Regions from separate parts of the Homo sapiens genome. Here region 1 is linked to region 2. The links are contacts of gene promoters, found by promoter capture Hi-C in blood cells and fetal thymus (Javierre and others, 2016). All regions are on one chromosome and are shown on one strand. Each heading gives the region's core, a stretch centred on a gene start or on the middle of the fragment in contact. The rest is flanking DNA. Distances are from core to core; before and after follow the strand shown. Region 1 overlaps MCF2L2 (MCF.2 cell line derived transforming sequence-like 2). Region 2 holds the start of B3GNT5 (UDP-GlcNAc:betaGal beta-1,3-N-acetylglucosaminyltransferase 5).

What was found. Contacts are between HindIII fragments. The CHiCAGO score rates a contact against its expected background, and 5 or more counts as called.
Region 1: a contact is called between a fragment that was not itself captured here and the fragment with the promoter of B3GNT5 in region 2, in 3 of 17 cell types (M2 macrophages, M1 macrophages and monocytes). The highest score is 7.6, in M2 macrophages.

Annotation. Positions count from the first base shown.
Region 1 is chr3:183,303,579-183,306,615 of GRCh38, forward strand. All of the region lies in intron 10 of MCF2L2 (MCF.2 cell line derived transforming sequence-like 2), which reads right to left. Among named protein-coding and RNA genes, the nearest start is that of B3GNT5, 52 kb to the left of the region's middle. The HindIII fragment of the contact is 2,425 bases long and covers 268-2,692 here.
Region 2 is chr3:183,251,895-183,254,993 of GRCh38, forward strand. It overlaps B3GNT5 (UDP-GlcNAc:betaGal beta-1,3-N-acetylglucosaminyltransferase 5), which reads left to right and starts at 1,359. Exons shown (of 2, transcript NM_032047.5): 1 at 1,359-1,578. All of the region lies in intron 15 of MCF2L2 (MCF.2 cell line derived transforming sequence-like 2), which reads right to left. It overlaps LOC124906310 (a long non-coding RNA gene), which reads left to right. Exons shown (of 3, transcript XR_007096189.1): 3 at 641-661. The HindIII fragment of the contact is 12,746 bases long and covers 837-3,099 here.

The DNA of each region.
Region 1 (3,037 bases), core at 230-2,729, 52 kb after region 2:
CTCCCAGTCATTCACGAAGCCCCGCAGGGACCGTCGCCTTCTTAATGCCTTTCAAATTCTGACCCCATCTCTGCCACCTCCTTGTCACTGTCTGCTCAGGCCTCATGGCTTCTCATGGGGACAACTGGTCTCCCTGCTTTTCTTCAGGCTCTCCTTCAAATCATGCTCCAGACTGCTGACAAAGGAGCAATTCCAACATATCTTATTGTGTCTACATCACTCCCAAGCTTCAAGCCCTTTCCTGGGCGCCCAGGGTCTTCAGGAGCAAGCTTAAACTCTTGAGCAATGCACACGGGGAATTTCATTATCTAGCTCATACCTGGGTGTGCCTGACTTACCAAGTCCTCTTCCACTTCCTCAACTCCATTCTCTGCTGCAACCATACTAATTATCCACTTATTGTTCCCCAAATATTCAGGCAGCTTCAGGCCTCCATCCCTTCTCCACCTGCTGTCTGCCTAGAAAGCCCATCCTTCCCTACTCCCCCTCACCCATACTCCTCTGGGGCCAACTCGATCTAAATCATATTTCAGACTTCACCTTCTCCAGAAAACTTTCTCTGTGCTTCTCTTGATCAGAGCACCTGCTTCATTATGTTGTGACCACTTATCTGCTGCCTGCGCTATGCCACAGACACCTATGGTCCAGAACCAGCTCTTATTCAACTGAAAACAGTGCATGCTGCATCTTAGGTACTTACAAATAAATGCTGCACAAAACAAAGAGGAGTACTGGTATAGAAACAAGTGACACAAATCAAGTAGTGGCTAGTTAAAAGGACTGAGGCAAAAATACCCAGAACACTTGTTCTAAACAGCAAAGGCCCAGGTGCACTGGTTACCACCCCTACAAGATGACTGGAATACTCATTCCCTGGGCAGTGATTTTTTTTTTTTTTTTTTTTTTGAGATGGAATCTTGCTCTGTAGCTAGGCTGGAGTGCAGTGGCTTGATCTAGGCTCACTGAAAATTCTGCCTCCGGGGTTCAAGCGATTCTCCTCCCTCAGCCTCCCGAGTAGCTGGGACTATAGGCGCCCACCACTATGCCTGGCTAATTTTTTTTTTTTTTAATTTTTAGCAGAGATGGGGTTTCACCATGTTGCCCAGGCTGGTCTCGAACTCCTGAGCTCAGGCAATTCACCCGCCTCGGCCTCCCAAAGTGCTAGGATTACAGGCGTGAGCCACCGCGCCTGGTCTGGGCAGTGATTTTTGACTCTTTGGTTCACTGCTGTGTCCTCAGAACTTAAACAGTACCTGGCATGGTAGGAGATGAATAAATATTTGCAGAATAGATGTCGAATGAATGACAGACCTTTCCTAGCACTGCTCAGCTACCGCAGACTGAACCTAGCACATGTTCCATAGCCCAGAATTTATCCCTCTACCTCTGTAATGTTAATAACAACAGCTAACATCTACTGAGAGCTTAACAGATGCCAGGCACTGTTCTGAATGCTTTACATTTGCTTATTTCCTTAACTCTTCACAACAAACCCTTTGATACAGGTACTGTTTTACCAAAGGGAAGTGGAGCACAATGGCCCAAGGTGACCCAGGTAGGAAAGAGAAGAGCCAGGCTTCAAACCCAGGCAGTCTTGCTCCAGGATCTGGCTCAGACCAACATACACAGAGAAAAATGGCTGCACTTGTTCTGCCTAAACTTAGAGACCTCATTTGGTTGCTCGAACTTGTCTGACTTTAGTCAAATATAGAAACATGAGACTTGGCATGAAAGTCTCTGTTGACACTTTTTTTTTTTTTAAGTCCAGCTGCCTAATTTATTAAGAACAGGGCAGAATTTTCTGGGTCCAGGGAAATTCACCACAGGATACTTCCAAATCACCCTGTGGTGATCAGAGCCTGCCCTTCCCTCAGCATACAGTATTTCACCCTTCAGAATTTTCCAGAAGACATTTGAGATGTTAGAGGGAAGATGTGTGTAACAGGTCCAAATGGGTCTAGGGAGAAACGCCCATAAAGGCAACTGAGGAGGCCGGGCGCAGTGGGTCACGCCTGTAATCCCAGCACTTTGGGAAGCCAAGGCCGGCGGATCACAAGGTCAGGAGTTAGAGACCAGCCTGACCAACATGGTGAAACCCCATCTCTACTAAAAATACAAAAATTAGCCGGGTGTGGTGGAGGGTACCTGTAGTCCCAGCTACTTGGGAGGCTGAGACAGAAGAATCGCTTGAACCCAGGAGGCGGAGGTTGCAGTGAGCTGAGATTGTGCCACTGCACTCCAGCCTGGGCGGCAAGAGTGAAACTCCGTCTCAAAAAAAAGGGCAACTAAGGAGCAACCCGGATTCAGCCACCACATGGCTGGAAGGTCACTATTACAGAATTGAAAGGACAACAATAGTTTCTGACCACTGACTACTGACCACCAACCATATTGCAAGCTGACCACATGAAGTCCCTACCACACATCTAACTCATTTAATCTTCACAAGGTCTCTGTGAGGCAGGAATTATTACCTCTGCTTTACAGATGAGGGGGACCATATTCAGAAAGGCTACGAAACGTGACTAGGGTCATACAGCTGGTACTTGTTAGAGCCAAGATTTGAATCCATCCCTATCCGACTTCCAAAGCCTGTGTTCTTGTCACCTTCCAGCCCACCTGGCCTCTACACATGTGCTATGAAATCCTCCTGGTGCCTGCAAAGAAATTTATGGTGAAACCTCCAAATTGAAGCTTATTTTTTTAGTTTATATACCTCCCACTCAGGATAAATAGTCATCAAAATCTCCAAAGTAAAAAAGAAAGAGTGAGGGAAAAAATGGCTAAAATCTTCTGATCACAAGCCCATCTGGGATCTTTCAGATGCTGAAAATTCCAGAAGGCTGGATCGTCAAGTTTCAGCTTAGAAGTTGCAATCAGAAATCTTTATTGAAATAAGTTTATTTCCCCCCGAGGACTCTGCTGGTATAACAGATGAGAGATGAGAGTGCCTACTAGGGAAGAAAGTGGCGAGAAAGCGAGTGATGCTACTCTATCCGGGAATCTAGAACAAACCCACAGAGGATCCACAGGGATG
Region 2 (3,099 bases), core at 109-2,608:
CCTTCACACCCTCTCATCTCTCCCTCCTACCACCAAAAAACTTGCATCGTATTTCCAATCTCCAGACATACTTTTGAAACCATTTATCTATCTGGTGTGTTTATCTGTATCTAGTATGATGTGAATATGTGATTTGTATGTGTGTCTACCACTGTTTTGGTCAGTTTGTATTTCTCGTGGGTACAGTTCTATGTGCTCATGTATGTGGAACATATGTATACTGACACATGGACCTAGCTCCAAATGATCTGAAAGGAATATAATTGTAATTGAATATTTGCACAGATATACAACATACACATGTGATGGCTGGGGGAAATGCATGTGGGATTTCAGTCAGCATTTTATTAGAGAAGGTATGTCATTAGTGCTGTATTAACAATGAATCAGCTTATTTGTGGGTCACTGTCAATGACTCCTTTGCAAATCACACATGTAAATATTTCTGTCTGTGGTCTGATGAACATGCAGTGCCACAGTCTGGGAGATGCTGAGCCATGCCCTGTGTAGGCAGCATATGAAAAGAACTGCATGATTTAAAAGATGCTGACCAGCTTAAGGAAAGCAATTTAAAAACTTCCTAAAAATCTAGTTTGAATGAACAACAGTTTTCATTTTGTGTGTGTGTTTTTTCTTTTAGAGATGGGGTCTTGCTATGTTGGCCACGCTGGTCTCTAACTCCTGGGATCAAGCAATCCTCCTGCGGCTCAGCCTCCCAAAGTGATGGGATTACAGGTGTGAGCCACCGTGTCTGCTGGCCCCACTGTTTTAAACCCTGATTCGACAATCATACATTTAACTCATTACCTGTCTTGTTCCTTTTACGACAAACTCAAAGCTTTTATTTTACTAAAGTATTTGGGTTAATCTTTTGCTTTTCTGTCATGTTCTGAAATATGTACAATAACAGAATCGCTCAAAATATTATCTCCGTTAAATGTTTTGTGGCTTTAGGGAGAGGTCTAACAACATGCGGGAAACAAGAAATCAAGCGCATCCAGGATTCATTTATAATCTCTCTCGTTGAGTAGAAGTCCGCATCTCTCGATATTGTCTGGTTACCTGCATGAAGTATTCTAAAGGAGGAAAATAGCTCAAAGAGGACATTCATGTGCACTCTGGCTTCCAGTTGGCCATTTGAGTAAGTGATCGCAATTAACTGACGAGCGGCAGGGAAACACTTCCTGGAATTCTCATCTACAGACAAGAACAAACTGGGGCGGGGCCCATCACCTTCACCTACGCGCCGGGAGGGTGGCGGCTGGCGGGCGGGGCCGGGCTCGGGCCGTGACGCCGAGAGTGCGGGGCGCGCGGCTGGGAGCCTCGCGCCCCCGCCCGGGCCCGCCCCCATCCCGCCCGCATACAGCCCGCATCCCGCCGGGGAAGCGAGCCCAGTCCAGCGCTGCCCGTCCAGTCCTCGCCCAAGATTTAAAGCCCGCAAGTTTTGTTCTTGAGACCAGCGACTTTAGCTCCGATGCGGGAAGGAAAGCCGACCTCCGATTTGGACATTTAAAGAGCTGGGCTTGAACTTCGTGAGTTTCGCTCTAAACTGCCCTTGAAATGAAGCTGGACTTGGAGGTAAAGTCACTGGGAAGCTGGCCTGGGGCGGGGTTTCCCCCTCTTCTCGTATTTTAGAAACGGACAGCGGCAGTGCAGCCCTAGTTTGCTGTAAGTTTCCTTACTTTGTTACTGAGGCCCCCAGAGCTCCACGCATAAGTGGTGTGACCAGAAACCTTTTAACAAGACCCGCCTGAGCCTGCGTTAGAGCTCCCGCTCGGAAAGTAAAAGACCATCCTAATCCGCGGCGCTGCGGAACCGGTGTCCCGTGTGGGAGGAACCGCGGCGTTCCCTGGGCGTAGGGCCCGCGAGGCCAGCACAGTCCGCCTCTTGGCGGAGCGCCCTGGGCCGGTGGTTCCGCGCGGAGTTAGTCTGTGGTCAGTTACGTGGTGAAAACACGGCTGTGCCGCGGCCGCATCTTTCCGCGGCCGAGGCCTCTCTGGGTGGGAGTGTTGGCTTCCTTTCCGGATCGCTAAATGGGGAAAGTTCTGGCCGCTCGGCGGGATACGTCTCCAGGCCACGGATGGTTCGTTCTCCGTGCCGCGGCCCCGAGCTGGGCTCCCTGGGTCTCCAGCGCGGGCTCCCGGCATTGGGGGCTGCGGGCCGGCCCCTCCGCCCCGCCCCCGCCCCGCCGCGCCTCCTCGGCCGAGCGGCTCGCGGTCTCCGGCGCGGGAGGCTCCGAGTCTGCCCACTCCGGGCCGAGCGAGGTCTCTGGAGGAGAAGAGTGGCGAGGAGGTGAGGGCACGCCGGCCCTCGCCCGGCGGGTGGCGCCAGGACTTCAGGTGGGAACGCGCGCTTGGGCCGGGGGCGCGTGGCTGGCGTGGACACCGGATCGGGGCCCGCCGCCCTGGCCCGGACCGCGCACGGCCCAGCGCCGGGAAGTCGGGAAGCCGGGGAGGCCTCTCCCACCGCGGGCCCCGGCAGCCCGCCCTCTGAAAGCGCGGCGGAGAAGGAGGCTCGTCCCCTCCCCGGAACGCCTTTGTTCCCTCCGGCCTGCCCGCGCGGGTGGCCAGCGGCTGGGACCCAGGCCGGGCCGCCGCCCAGGTGCGGCAGGTAGGCTCGGGGGCCGGGCAGCTCCGGTTGGGGCGGCTTCCCGGGGCCTGCGGGTCCCCGTCCCTGAGGAGCTCCGGCTCCTCGGTGGCGGGACAGGCCCGTGCGCGGGAGCCGCGAGGCGAACGCCGCGCCCACCAATTCGGTTGCCGGCCGGGGGCCCCAGGCTTGCGGCCACCCGCCTCCGGCTGGAGGGCTGAATTCGAGTCGAAAGCCCGTGTCGGGCTGGAAAGAAGAAACCGCCAACCTGAGAACGCTTTCGGCGAGTTACTGGCGGGGGAAATGGGGACAGGGAAGTGGGCAGGCGGGGAGACTGCAGCCGCAGATCTCCCTGGCGGGGAGGTCGTGGCCACTCTTTCCTTTGACTCTGCCTCATTTCATTTTGAATCCTGATGTGACAGAGGCAATTGCTTGCTTGGATACCATATAGGTAAAAGTAACAGTTTTCAACTCGACTCTTGACTACACCCTGTACATTCTTGGCCGGTGTTG